Regions from separate parts of the Homo sapiens genome. Here all the other regions are linked to region 1. Evidence: promoter capture Hi-C in 16 types of primary human blood cells and fetal thymus (Javierre and others, 2016). All regions are on one chromosome and are shown on one strand. Each heading gives the region's core, a stretch centred on a gene start or on the middle of the fragment in contact. The rest is flanking DNA. Distances are from core to core; before and after follow the strand shown.

Region 1 (5,094 bases), core at 857-3,356:
AATCACTTGAACCCAGGAGGCGGAGGTTGCAGTGAGCCAAGATCGTGCCACTGCACTCCAGCCTGGGCAACAAGAGTGAGACTGCATCTCAAAAAAAAAAAGTATATATATATATATACTTTTTCTCATATATATATATATATGAGAGAGAGAGAGAGAGAGGAGTATTTTGGTATCAAGCACCACATGAAGATGTTTCAAAACTTGAACCGCCTAATGTAGTGCGCATGTTAAGCAGACTTTAAAAGAGATCCTGGCCGGGTGCGGTGTCTCATGCCTATAATCCCATCACTTTGGGAGGCTGAGCTGGGTGGATCACCTGAGGTCAGGAGTTCGAGACCAGCCTGGCTAACATGGTGAAACCCCATCCCTACTAAAAATACAAAAATTAGCTGGGCATGGTGGCGGGCACCTGTAATCCCAGCAACTCGGGAGGCTGAGGCAGGAGAATCGCTTGAACCAGGCAGGCAGAGGTTGCAGTGAGCCAAGATCATGCCACAGCACTCCAGCCTGGGCGACAGAGTGAGACTCTGTCTCCAAAAAAAAAGAAAAAAAGAGAGAGTGATCCTAAGTAATCATTCATACCTATCTTCACAAAATATGGTCAATTCTGGGTTTGGGGGGCTGATATTTGAGATTATATATAGAACTAAATTGTTTCACTCACGACATAGAATCATCCAAACTGCATGTACACACAAATGGCTTTATGCAAAGGCCCTGACAGAACGATATTTAGTTTTTCAGATTAGGTACATAGGGCCAACCAGCCCACCCTGTACATTCCAGCAAGTGCAAGAGCAGCAACTTTCCTATTTCAATACAATTATGGGCAGAAATTATATGATGTAAAATAGAGGCCCTTCCATAAAGTTAAGATTTAGGGTAGAAGAAGGGAAGATAAAACCAAAATTCCCATGAAGTCAAAATTAGACAGTGGTCTTGTACTCTGCTGAACCCTGTGATGAACTGTAGTCCTCAAACTCATGGACTCGGATCCAGGTTCACCAAGACACTTCAGTATGCTTCCAACTGTTTCATCATCATCTTCCTGCTGTATTCGTAGGCCACAAACAGTGCCCCATTGGCAGGGATTGCTCGAATCATAGTAGCTTTCAGTCCAGAATATAAGGCTACTATTCCTTCATTTCTCACAACACTTAAGAGGGTACCAATAAATCCTGCCTGTTTCCCATACATGGAAAGAACTTGAATTCTGGATTTAATACAATCCACTGGGAACACGACAAGCCACAGGCAAATTCCAGCAACTCCACCACTTAACATCAAATGGACAGGGCCTAGTTCATCTTTTGATCTCCCTGACGCAAAAAACGATCGGCTCAGTTCATAGCCACCAAAGAAAAAGAAATAACCCGGTACTTCTTGAAGTAGAGTACTCGAGAGTCCATGGTAGAAGCCCAAGGGGCCATCCTTTTTAAGGATACCCTTCACGACAGACCAAATTGTATTATGGCTTTTTGCTATCTTCCCTGACATCTCCATTTCATACATGGTCTGTAGCCGGCACTTCACAAGCTCAGTGGGGCAGAGAGCCAGTGCAGCAAATGCAGAGGCGAAGGACCCCGCGGCTGCAGTCTGGAGATCACTCAGCTTTGCCTGCTTGTCCATTCCAGCCACTTTCCTGACAAACTGCTGGCAGAACCCGTAGCACATGAAGAGGACCGAGTTTTCGGCGACGTAGGCCATAAGTGCCGGGCCGGTGCCCTTGTAGAAGCCCCGGAGACCCACTTGAGCGTATGTCTTCAGGAAGCAGTCGGTGAGGCCCTTGTACAGGTCAGGGAACGTCTGCATCTTCACTTTTATTGTGTCGAAGGGCTGCCCAGTCAGTACACACGCTGTCCCCCCTGCGGCCCCCGCTGTGAGGTCGATGGCGGCTTGGATGCCAGGACCGGACTTCATGTTCGCTCACTCGTCTGAGGGTCCCAGTGGAAGGCGACTAACTCCCCAGAGCGTGAGACCGGCTTTTCACGTCCAGCCGCAGCGAGCGCGGGGAATGGAGTTGGGGGTGGTGGGGTGGCTCTACCGCCTGTTCTGGGCTCTCACCCCAGTGCGGGGGAAGCCGCTCAACCCTACGCTCCGCCGCGGGCCGCCCCCTCCCCGCGCACTAAAATAACCCCCAGCTGCCGGCCCAGCGCGCGGCTCACTAGCGTTCCTGCGGCTCCTGGCGCACTGGCCGGGCCCCCAGCCGCCTCCAGCCTGGAGCCGCCATCCCTGCACCCGCAGGCGGGGGACGCGGACCGAATAAATACTTTTAGTGTACTGCGACTGGGCGCGGTGGCTCACTCCTGTATCCCAGCACTTTGGGAGGCCGAGGCGGGAGGATCGCTTGAGCCCAGGAGATCGAGACCAGCCTGGGCAATATGGCAAGACTCCATTTCTACAAAAACGAAAAAATACCCGGGCGCGATGGCGCGCGCCTGTGGTCCCAGCAATTCAGGAGAATGAAGCGAGGATCGCTTGAACCCGGGAGGTCGATGCTGCAGTGAGCTATGATCGCACACTGCACTCCAGGGTGGGCGAAAGGGTGAGGCTCTGTCTCAAAACAAAACCAAAACCAAGAAAACATGTAAAGCTTTTCGATAAATTCTTGCAATTATGGCCGGGAACTCTAGACGCCGCAGTTCAGCTGGCGGCAAAAGAAATGCTGTCCTAATCAGTCAGCCCTGCTTCTTTTCTTTTCTCTCTTTTTTTTTTTTTTGACTTAGGGTCTCACTCGGCCGCCTAAGCTGGAGTTCAGTGGCGCGATCCTGGCTCACTGCAGCCCCAATCTCCTGGCCTCAGGCGATCCTCTCACCTCAGCCTCCTGAGTAGCTGAGACTAGAGGGACTACAGGCGCAAGCCACCACATCTGGCTAAATTTTGTATTGTACAGACGGGGTTTCGCCATGTTGCCCAGGCTAGTCTCGAACTCCTGAACTCAAGCAATCCACCCACTGGCCTCCCAAAGTGTTGGGGCTTACAAGCATGAACCACCACACCCGGCCTATCCCACGCTTCTTACCATGCAAAAAACAAAAACAAACAACCCGAAAAGAAGATGCCCTCACTTGAATAGACCCTGAATTCAGAGGGTCAATCTACAAGAAAACTGCTTTAAAGTAGATAAGACAGGCCAGGTGTGGTGGCTCATGCCTGTAATCCCAACACTTGGAGAGGCTGCGGAGGGAGGCTCATTTGAGCCTAGGAGTTCAAGGCTAGCTTGGGCAGCAAAATGAGACACCCCTTACCCCCTACAAAAAATAAAGTAGAGAAGACAAACTGTCAGAGGCGCTGGAACCACAGCAACTCCATCTTGACTAGGGACTGAGTAAAATAAGGCCGAGACCTACTGGACTGCATTCCCAGGAAGACAGGCATTCTAAGTCACAGGATGAGATAGGAGGCCGGCACAAGATACGGGTCACAAAGACCTTGCTGATAAAACAGGTTTCAGTAAAGAAGCCAGCCAAATCCCACCAGAATCAAGATGGCATAATAAGTGACCTCTGGTCGTCCTTACTGCTCATTATACGCCAATTATAATGCATTAGCATGCTAAAAGACACGCCCACCAGCGCCGTGTCCACTTACAGATGCCATGGCAACAATAAGAAGTGACCCTATGTGGTCTAAAAAGGGGGAGGAATCCTCAGTTCCGGTAACTTTGGACCCCTTTCCCAGAAACCTCATGAATAATCCACCCCTTGTTTAGCTTACATTCAATAAAAAACTGTAAGTATCCTTAGTCAAGCCGCCCAGGCCACTGCTGTGCCTATGGAGTAGCCATTCTTTTGCTTCTTTACTTCTCTAATAAACTTGCTTTCACTTGACTCTATGAACTTGCCCCAAATTATTTCTTGCATGAGATCCAAGAACAATCTCTTGGGTCTGGATCGGGACCCCTGTCCGGTAACGAAACGATCTGAGGGTTGCTACATGAGAGACAGTGACTGCTTTTGATCAGAAAACCCTCAGCGATCTGCCCACGCTCCTCACTTTCCTGGGGGGCAAGGAGGGGAGTAGGGCACTGTGGGAATCCTTAGCCCTGGAGATGTGCTACTGCTTTCCTGCAGAGCTGGAGAAATGCTATCACATGGCAACATCCCCAAGGATCTGGGGTTGCAGCCCTGGGAACTGGTGGAACGTGGAGTCCTTATCATTTCTGAAGATAGAACACGGCACTATAAAATCAACTTGGAAAATGGATAGTATTTATATACTGCATTGCTAAGAAACTTGATAGAAAAGAGCTGGGTGGCTCAGCACTATGCTTTCTAAGTTTTGAGATTCTCTTTGAGGACCCACACAGCCTCATGCAGAAGTAGAAATTTGTCGTTTGTACACTGTTGGTGGGAATGTAAAATAGTTCAACCCCTATGGAAAGCAGTATGGAGATTTCTCAAAGAACTAAAAATAGAACACCCATTCAACCCAGCAATCCCACTATTAGGTATCTACCCAAAGGAAAAGAAATCATTTTATCAAAAAGACACCTGTGCTGGGGACAGTGACTTACACCTGTAATCCCAGAATTTTGGGAGCCCAAGCCAGGTAGATCGCTTGAGCCCAGGAGCTCCAGACCAGCCTGGACAACATGGCAAAATGCCATCTCTACAAAAAAATACAAAAAGTAGCCATGCATGATGGCATGCCCCTGTAGTGGCAGCTACACAGGAGGCGGAGATGGGAGGATTGACTGAGCTGAGTTGGAGGCTGCAGTGAGTTATGATCCAGCCTGGGTGGCAAAACAAGACCCTGTCTCCAAAAAAAAAACCAGAAAACATCTACACTCATATGTTTATGGAAGCACTATTCACAACAGGAAAGTCACAGAATCAATGTAAGTGTTCATCAATAGTTGATTGGATAAAGAAAATGTGGTATATGTATACCACGGAATACTATGCAGCCATAAAAAAGAATGAAATTATGTCCCTCACAACATGGATGGAGCTGGGGGCTGTTATTCTAGGTGAAATATCTTAGAACCAGAAAATCAAATACTGCATGTTCTCACTTATATAAGTGGGAGCTAAACAATGGGTACACAAAGACATAAAGATGGGAATAACAGACACTGGGGAATCCAAA
Region 2 (5,094 bases), core at 1,377-3,876, 560 kb before region 1:
CAGCAGAACATGGTCATATACCATGATTGTCTCCTTTTCTTCTTTCTACTTTTCCTGAAGTTAATGCTTGACTTTTCTTCATGTGCTTAGTTTTCCTTGGACCTCTTGTTAATTTTTTGCACATTCTTCAATAACTCTTAGTACAGTTTTCTATGTGGTATATCATTTCAGGTAATCAGAGAAAGTATTAATACAAAAGAGCTATAAGATACCAGAATGTTTAGGCCCAGATCCAGAGAGGAGTAATTGTTGTGGGTTATTACCTAGTAACCAGGTAACAATGAAGCTCTGGTAGCTTTAAAGACCCAAGGCTGGCATTTGGCAGTTTGGGAGGATTTCATGGGTCTGACTCATGTACTGGCTGTGAAAGTTGATTTGAGCTAAAATGACCCCGGTTTGGTCATCTGGGAAGCACTGAGGCTGGTCCAAGACTTGTGGCAGGTAGCCACTGAGTGGGAGGAGGGAGAGTGAGCCTAGACACAGCTGGGGGAACAGTTTTTAGGGAAAGGAAGACATGGGTTTCTCTCAGTGGTGTGCATCCTCAAATGGGGGCTTCCCAAGTTTGTGTGTCCTGGTCTGGAAGTTGTGGTGGGTAGAAGGAAACTTAAAACTCAGCATCGTTCTTGAACCATTCAGGCCTAGGCTGACCCTACTGCCCAGGGTATACCAACTCATGACACTTATCTGTCAAGGAACTCCAAATTCAATCTACTTTCTGCATTATCTCAGTGATATATTTGCATGCTTCTTCCTGTCTGTGTTTTGGGGGCAGGTTTGATGTCCATGGACCCTCTTTAGTCCTCTATGTATGTCCCCACCAAGCTTATCATTTTCTTGGAGATGGGAGAGAGCCCTTTTTCAAGGAGGGGTCTAAAACGGCATGGATTCCTGAGAAGACTAGGCTGGGTCAGGAGCTGAAGAGGTTTAAGGTTGGGACAGAAACTCTGGAGGTTAGCCTTGGTAAGAGTCTTTTGAGACCTACTCCATGAGTAAATCTGCTCTTCACCAAATTTCCAGATCCCCACAGTTCCTCTGAGCAGCTTCTCACTACTGTCATCTCTCCCAGATATGAACCAAATCCCTGGTTGCCAAGACAAGTTGACAAGGTTTGAAAAAGAAACTATTTTGAAACAGAACTTCAAGGAAAAATAAGAACCCATTCTCAGGCAAATCCTAGCAGCTTTGATTAGTAAAGAAACAGCAGTCCTTGTTTGATTCAGACAGTTTATTACTTACATAGACACAAAAGGAAATAAGCAGAATTTCCAGCTCTCCCACAGGACAGCACCAATACAAAAGGGGATGGCAACCTGAGTAATGAGACACCCTGTTGCTGAGGAGCTGAGTCCATTTGCAACTAAGAAGTTTATGGCTTGCAGTTCTGCCCTAAGAAAGATGAGGCAGAATGCCTCATACCTTATCAGAACCTGGGAAGTGATAAGAACTGCCTCATGACAGCCTCCCAAGAAGATAAAAAGATGAGTTGAAAGTGGCCTTGTGGTAGTTCCTCATAAGCCTGTTCCCCAAGGATCACAGAATGTCCGCCAAGACTTTGATTAATTATGGTTAAGCCTTGCCTGTATGGCCTATGTGAGTACATATAAGGTTGGCAGGTCAACGTGGCAGAGCCATGCCCCTACACCCATATACAGAAGAGAGCAAATGAACAGATAGTTGACCAGCCTGAAAAAGCAAAACAAGGGAAAAGAGAATAATAATTGTCATAATAAGTAAAAGGATAATATGCAAGGGATTTCCCCTCTTTTTCTGAGATAGCATCTTACTCTGTTGCCCAGATCTGAGTGCAATGACACAATCACAGCTCACTGCAGCCTCAACTTCCCAGGCCCAAACCATCCTCCCACCTCAGCCTCCCGAGTAGCTGGGACTACAGGCACATGCCACCATACCTGGCTAATTTTTAAGAAGTTTTTGTACAGAGGGCATCTCACTCTGTTGCCCAGGTTAGTCTCAAACTCCTGAGCTCAAGCAATCCTCTCGCCTTGGCCTTCCAAAATGTTGGGATTGCAGGCATGAGCTGCCCCATCTGGTTAAGAGTTTTTCTTTTGCCCAGGAATTTGAGCTATGCTGAAAACAGAAAGAAGTAATTCTAAGAGTAGCTTCCACCTGATTGCCAAGAGTTAGTGGCCAAGCCAGCTTTCTGATAACCAATCACGATATCACCCCCTTACCTTTCCCCAATCCCCAGTTTGTATAAAGACGGTACTAGGGAAAGGGATAGTTGTCAGAATCCTTGATAGTGGGTTGGGGGAAGGTTGTCACAGTGTGAGACCTTTCCTTTCATCTAGGGAGCCATGTGATGAGAAAGAATTCAGTAGGCCTCTGTGGAGAATGTGAGTGCCTGCAAGAAATGAAGAATGACATTTGGTACTTGGTTGGACAATTGGACTCATACATATATACATATATAATATATATATATATAATATTTTTTAAAGTCAGGAACCAATTATAGATCATGCATTGCTTTTAGTTGTCATGACATCTCTCCAGTCTCTTTAATCTAGACCAATCTCACCTGATATTCTTTTCCTTTTTGTGACAGCCAGTTTTAAAATAATTTTAAAAAGCTGTGGTAAAATCCATAATATAAAATTTACCATCTTAACCATTTTTAAGTGTACAGTTCAGTAATGTTAGGCACATTCACATTGTTGGGCAGTCAATCTTCAGGGCTGTCTTCTTGCAAAACTGAAACTCTATGCCCATTAAACAACAACTTCCCATTTTCCATCCTCCAGCTCCTGACAACCACCATTCTGTTTTCTGTCTCTGTGAATCTGACTACTCTAGGGACCTCATATCAGTGGAATCATATAGTATTTGTCATTTTGTAGTGTGATGGGATGATCTCCGCTCACTGCGACCTCCGCCTCCCGGGTTCAAGCGATTCTCCTGCCTCAGCCTCCCTAGTAGCTGGTATTACAGGCGCACACCACCATGCCCAGCTAATTTTTGTATTTTTAGTAGAGATGGCATTTTACCATGTTAGTCAGGCTGGTCTCGAGCTCCTGACCTCATGATCCACTGGCCTCAGCCTCCCAAAGTGCTGGGATTACAAGCGTGAGCCACCGTGCCCTGCCGGTAATTCTATTTTTAATTTTCTGAGAAACTGCCTTACTGTTTTCTAAAAAGGCTGCACCATTTTACATTCCCATTAATAGTGCACAAAGGTTCCAATTTCTGCACACCCCTTCCAACACTTATTTTCCCTCTCTTTCTGGTGTGAGATGATATTTATATGGTTTTAATTTGCATTTTTCTAATGATAATTGATGTTGGGTATTTTTTTTAGGTGAAAGCAAGTTTACTAAGAAAGTAAAGGAATAAAGAATGGCTATCCCCCAGGCTGAGCAGCCCCGAAGGCTGCTGGTTGCCTATTTTTATGGCTATTTCTTGATTGTATGCTAAACAAGGGGTGGATTATTCATGAGTTTTCTGGAAAAGGGGTGGGCAATTCCCAGAACTGAGGGTTTCTCCTAGTTTTAGACCATATAGAGTAACTTCCTGATGTTACCATGGCGTTTGTAAACTGTCATGGCACTAGTGGGAGTGTCTTTTAGCATGCTAATGCATTATAATTAGTATATAATGAGCAGTGAGGATGACCAAAGGTCACGTTCTTCGCCATCTTGGTTTTGGTGGGATTTGGCTGGCTTCTTTACCACACGCTGCTTTATTAACATGGTCTTTGTGACCTGTATCTTGTGCCGACCTCCTATCTCATCCTGTGACTTAGAATGTGACTGGGAATGCAACCCAGTAGGTCTCAGCCCTATTTTACCCAGCCTCCATTCAAGATGGAGTTGCTCTGATTCAAAGGCCTCTGACAGACTTCCTCCCTCCCATTTATTTATTTACTTATTTATTTAATTTGGAGACAGAGTTTTGCTCTTTTTGCCCAGGCTGGAGTGCAATGGCATGATCTCAGCTCACTGAAACCTCTGCCTCTCAGGTTCAAGTGATTCTCCTGCCTCAGCCTCCCAAGTAGCTGAAATTACAGGTGTGTGCCACCATGTCCAGCTAATTTTGTATTTTTAGTAGAGACGGGGTTTCACCACGTTGGTCAGGCTGGTCTCGAACTCCTGACCGCAAGTGATCCACTGGCCTCAGTCTCCCAAAGTGTTGGGATTATAGGTGTGAGCCACTGCACCTGGCCCCTCCCTCCCTTTTATAAGAAAACTCTTAATCCTAAGGGTTGTAGCAGGATGAAGATCCATGTTTTGTAACTTTTTCAGGCTGAATAGGGGCAATGATATTCCTGCCTAATTATTAGGGTCTCTTGTATTCAGGGTAGAGAGTAGCTCAATCAGAAAGCATCAGTATGTCAAGCACCATTCATAACCCTGAGTACTGATAAAAGGTGACATCTGGAAGATTAATAAGTGTTTAATTTGGGAAAACATTGAGTAAGCTTGTTCTGCATTCCTATGCAAAGAGCACAACACCAATATATTCCACAAAAGTAAAGCAAAATAAGTAAAGTTATCTCAAGTAAACTAAATAAGAAGGCTTTCCATAAGCTAGGCAACTGTTGGAACTGAGCTAATATGGAGTCACTAGCTGATTTCAATACATGCCCAGAATTAGAATATTGATCCACATTTTTATATCACCTATCCTTCTTGTTTCTTCTATCAGCCAGACACCACTGGTTGGTTTACAGGAATAAGCAGTCTAAATTGCAGACAAAAAACTCAAAAACAACTGATGAGACTAAAATCTGACAAAAGGTGTACCATAGTTCCTGAAACATATTTTTTCTCTCTCCAGTCTCCCATTTTTACTAAAGACAAATCATGGTAAGACCAATTTGCTTTAATATACTTGGCCTAATTATTTGTTTAAAGTGCAGCAAGAATAATTATTTGCCACATAGGCTTCTTTTAATTGGTTTTGATGGAACTCTGTTCCATAAAGAATCTCAGATAAGACTTTTTTTTTTTTTTTGAGATGGAATCTCGCCCTGTCACCCACGCTGGAGTGGAATGGTGCGACCTTGGCTCATTGCAACCTCCACCTCCCGGGATCAAGCAACTCTCCTGCCTCAGCCTCCTGAGTAGCTGGGATTAC
Region 3 (5,094 bases), core at 1,892-4,391, 530 kb before region 1:
TGCCTGGCTAATTTTTTTTTTTTGTATTTTTAGTAGAGATGGGGTTTCACTTTGTTAGCCAGGATGTTCTCGATCTCCTGACCTCATGATCTGCCCTCCTCAGCCTCCCAAAGTGCTGGGATTACAGGCGTGAGCCACCACGCCTGGCCCTATCTGGGAATATCTTAATTTTTTCCTCATATTTGAATGACAGTTTTGGTGGATATGAAATTATTGATATACAGTTTTTTTCTTTCAATGCGTTAAATTTATAATTCCATTGCTTTTTGGTCTGCAAGGTTTCTGATGAGAAGTTGGTTGATAATTTTATTGAGCATTTCCTATACATATTGAGTTGCTTTTCTCTTGCTTTCAAGATTCTATCTTTGTCTTTGGATTTTCATAGTTTGATTATAATGTGTCTTAGTGTGGGTTTCTTTGCGGTTTCCCACTCGGACTTTGTTGAGCTTCTTGAATTTGTAGATTGATGTCTGTCATTAAATGTGGAAAGTTTTCAAACACTATTGTTTAAAAATATTCATTTCAACCATTTTTATCTCTGTCTCTCTTTCTCTCTTCTCCTTATGGGACTCTCATATGTATATATTTGTATGCTTGATGATATCCCACAAGTCCTTTAGGCTCTCCTCACTTTTCTTTATTCGTTTTTCCTTCGTGCTTTTCCAATGATAATGTCAATTATCTTATTTTCAAGTTGCTGATTATTTATTCTGTCTAATTAATTCACTTTTTTCAGAGATGAGGTCTCATCTCACTGTGTTGGCTAGGCTGGTCTTGAACTCCTGGGCTCAAGCAATCCTCCCACCTCGGCATCCCAAAGTACTAGGACTACAGGCATGAGCCACTATACTCAGCTTCTTCTGTCTACTTAAATCTGTGGGTTGAACCCCTCTAGTGAACTTTTCATTTAGTGATTGTATTTTTCAGCTTCAGAATTTGTTGGGTTTCTTTTCATAATTTTTATATCTTTGTCAATGTTCTCATTTGGTTCATATGTTATCTCTTGATTTTTTTTACTTCTTTGTTCATATTTTTTCTTAGCTATTTGAGCATATTTAAGACAATTATTTTAAATTCTTTGCCCATTAAGTCCAAGGTCAGGGAAATCTTAGGGATGATTACTGTCCATGTATTATGTTTCTCTGAATAAGACATGTTTTCCTGTTTCTTTGTATGATGTGATTTTTTCTTGAAAATTAGACATTTTGATATTTTGTGAAAACTTTGAAAATAAGATTATCTCACTTTCCCAGAGTTTAATGTTTTAAATTGTTGAAGGCTGTAGTAGTTCTTTCTTTTGAGACTTTTCCAAGCATGTTTTGCAAAGACTATTCCTTGTCAAATGTGATCACTGAAGTTTCTGATCCTCTAGCTTGTGTTCGTCTAGTTATTTGATGGATTCCCTTGAGTGTCATGAACCTAAACAAACAAATCAAAATCAGAGAAAGAGAGAAGCCATTTCTCCCAGTCTTTTCAGATTGCCTGTGTACTGGAGCACTTCTTCACCATACATAGGCTTGTTGTAAGCTTAGGGATTATCTCAAGGTGGAAATTTTTCTAAGCATATGTCTTGCCTGGACATGCACATGGCTTTTTAAATTTCCTTATACATGTGGCTGAATTTGAATGTCTTAATTTCCCACAGAGTGTCACCCCAGCTTATCTTCCAGGTCTTAGATGATATATTACATGTCCCCAAGCATAATATCTTCCTCCAGATGTCTGTGGGTTTGTAGTCACCTTGTAGCTTTTAGGAGCAGTGCCTGTGTCTTAGTCTGTTTAGTAATGCTGTAACAGTCTAGTGGGACCACATAGTTTATAAAGAAATGATTAGTCTCATGGTTCTGGTGACTGGAAAGTTCAAGATTGCATATTTCCATCTGAGGGTCTCAGGCTGCCACATATCATGGTGGAATGTGGAAGGTTAGGCAGTGTGCAAAGAGATCAAATGATAAGAGAGGAGGCAGATGTTTATGTGTGCATGCCAGGTTCTTTTTAACTACCAGCTCTCGTAGGAACTATTTAGAGCATAAACTCACTAACCCAGCAGGGAAGGTATTAATCTATTCATGAGGTATCCACCTTCATGAACCAAATGCTTCCCACTAGGTCCTACCTCCTAACATTGCCACAATGGGGATCAAATTTCAACATGAAGCCTGGAGGGGACAAACATTAAAATTATAGCCACCTGCAAATTCTTTAACCTTCAAACAATCAAACACTTTGCTTCAGTCCTTCAGTTGTTTCCCTAGACAGATTAGAAGAGACAAACAAAAAAAATTGTAAATGAAGTCTGCTCTTCACCCTTTGGTTCTAGGGAAGGAACTGGGAACTGTGCTGTCACCAATTCAAGACCATGTTTGATATTGTGCCAGGAAGAAGGTCAGGCAAGGAAGAGTAAAATCATCACCAAATGTTTCTTTCTGAGACAGGGTCTTTCTCTGTTTTCCAGGCTGTTTTCATTTTTATTTTTTGGTAGAGATGGAGTCTGACTACCCAGGCTAGTCTCAAACTCCTGGCCCAAGCAAACCTCCTACCTTGGCCTCCCAAATTGCTGGGATTACAGGCATGGGCCACAGCTCCTGGCTAGATTTTTTTTTTCTTACAGTCTAAATATGTTCATAGATTTTTTTTTCTTGATTGGGCGTTTACTTGGTTGTTGTAGACCTTTGACTGTTTTTTGTTTTGTTGATGTTTCTGTTGGGGGACAAAAGTTCGGAGCCTCCTTGTTCATGATTTTGCTGTCTTCGCTTCTGATTTTATAATTAAACTTGTTGATATGGTTTGGATATTTGTATCCTCCAAATCTGATGTTAAAATGTGATCTCCAATTTTGGAGGTGAGCCTAGTGGGAGGTATTTTGGTCATGGAGGTGGATCCCTCATGAATGGCTTGGTGCCCTCCCTGTGGTAATAAATGAATTCTCACTTTATTAGTTCACATGATAGCTACTTATTTACAGGAGCCTGGCACCTCTCTTGCCATGTGATATGCCTGCTCCCCTTTCACCTTCTCTCTCCCTTTTTTTTTTTTTTTTGAGACAGAGTCTCACTCTGTCGCCCAGGCTGGAGTGCAGTGGAGCGATGTCAGCTCATTGCAACCTCCACTTCCCTCGTTCAAGCAATTCTCCTGCCTCAGCCTCCAGAGTAGTGGGGACTACAGGCGCGTGCTACCACACCGGGCTAATCTTTGTATTTTTTTAAGTAGAGATGGGGTTTCACTATGTTGGCCAGGCTGGTCTCGAACTCCTGACCTCATGACCTGCCCGCCTTGGCCTCCCAAAGTGCTGGGGTTACAGGCATGAGCCACCATGCCTGGCCTCCTCCTTCACCTTCTATTATGAATAAAAGCTCCTGAGGCCTCAGGAATAAGAGGCTATCAGAAATAGATGTTGCCACCATGCTTCTTGTACAGTCTGCCAAACCATTGGCCAAATAAACCTATTTTCTTTATATAGTACTGACCTCAGGTAGTCCTTTATAGCAAAGCAAATCAGATGAACACACTTATTATTTAAGATAATTGTAGGCTCACATGCAATTATAAGAAATAATAATCCTCTGTACTCTTTACCCACTTTTCCACAATGGTAACATCTTCCAAGACTATCAATATTACATCCAAAATATTGATATTGATGCAGTTAAGATCCAGAACATTTCCATTACTACAGAGATTCCTTATATTGCCCTTTTATGCCCATACTACCTTTCACCCCTGGCCCACCTCTTTCTTAACCCTTGCAACGACTAATCTGTTTTCCACTTTTAAAATGTTGTTATTTCCAGAATGATATATAAATAAAATCATACAGTATAAAACATTTTGTGATTAGTCATTTTCACTCAGCATAATTCTCTGGAAATTCATCCAGGTTATTGAATGTATTAATATAATGGAATAGAATTCCATTACATAGATGTTCCCCTGTTTATTATTCATCTGTTGAAGGACATCTGGGATGTTTTAAGTTCAGGAATATTATGAATGAAATTTGTATTACCATTTGTGTAAAGGTTTTTGTGTGAACACAAGTTTTTACTTCTATTAAATAAATGCCAAAGAATGCAATTATTGTTCTATATGAGAGGTCCATGGGTAGTTGGTTGCTTTGTTTTGTTTTTAAAGAAACTGCCTTACTCTTTATCAGAGTGGCTATAGCAGTTTGCATTATCACCAGAATGTATGAGTAATCTAGTTTCTCTGAATTTTTTTCTAACATTTGGTGTTTTCAACATTTTATCTGAGTCATTCTGATAGGTATCTAATAATACCCAATTGTAGTTTTATTGCTCCTCCCTAATAGCTACTGGCATTGAAAATATGTTCATGTGTTTCTTTGCCTTCTTGGATATTTTCTTTGGTAAAATGTCTTTTCATATCCAGGTTCTAATTGGGCTGTTTGCTTTTTTACTGTTGAGTTTTGACTGTTCTTTTATATGTACTAGATATAAGTGTGTTGTCAGATATGTGCTTGCAAACATTTTCTCCAAAATTTTAGCTTTATCTTTTATGCTTTTAATATGTTTTTTTTAAAAGGGTAAAAGTTTAAAAATGTTTAAGAAATTCAACTTATTAGTTTTTCATTTTACAGATTATGCTTTTGATGTCAAGTCTAAGAGCCTTTTGCCTAGCCCTAGATCCTGAATATTTTCCTTTATGTTGTTTTCTAAAAATCTTAGAATGTTATGTTACTTTTAAGTTTGTGATAAATTTTGAATTAATTTTAGTATAAGATGTGAGACTTAGGCTGAAGCTTATTTTTTTTGCCCATGGATGTCCAATTGCTCCAATGCCATTTTTTGGAAGCCTATCTTTCCTTCAGTTAGTTGCATTTGCACCTTTGTCAAAATTCAGATGGGCATATTTGCATGGGTCTACTTTTGGATTATTTATTTTATCTTGTTCCATTGATTTACATGTCTATTCATCTACTTATTATTATACACAGTCTTGATTACTGTAGCTATTTAGTAAAAATCTTAAAATAGAGTACATTGATTTTTCCTACTTTTTTCTTGTTTCTCAAAATTGTTTTAATTATTCTAGTTCCTTTGGTATTCCATATAAATTTTACAGTAATCTCATCTA

What was found. The method cuts DNA at HindIII sites, captures the fragments that hold promoters and counts their contacts. A CHiCAGO score of 5 or more calls a contact.
Region 2: a contact is called between a fragment that was not itself captured here and the fragment with the promoter of SLC25A2 in region 1, in 2 of 17 cell types (M1 macrophages and M0 macrophages). The highest score is 5.7, in M1 macrophages.
Region 3: a contact is called between a fragment that was not itself captured here and the fragment with the promoter of SLC25A2 in region 1, in 5 of 17 cell types (M1 macrophages, M2 macrophages, M0 macrophages and 2 more). The highest score is 13.4, in M1 macrophages.

Annotation. Positions count from the first base shown.
Region 1 is chr5:141,301,943-141,307,036 of GRCh38, forward strand. SLC25A2 (solute carrier family 25 member 2) reads right to left here and starts at 2,107. Exons shown (of 1, transcript NM_031947.4): 1 at 693-2,107. The coding sequence starts at 1,923. The coding sequence ends at 1,018. The HindIII fragment of the contact is 3,271 bases long and covers 1-2,594 here.
Region 2 is chr5:140,740,749-140,745,842 of GRCh38, forward strand. The region is part of intron 3 of LOC105378198 (a long non-coding RNA gene); the gene reads left to right. Among named protein-coding and RNA genes, the nearest start is that of PCDHA1, 43 kb to the right of the region's middle. The HindIII fragment of the contact is 3,613 bases long and covers 821-4,433 here.
Region 3 is chr5:140,767,170-140,772,263 of GRCh38, forward strand. No RefSeq gene overlaps it. Among named protein-coding and RNA genes, the nearest start is that of PCDHA1, 16 kb to the right of the region's middle. The HindIII fragment of the contact is 3,232 bases long and covers 1,526-4,757 here.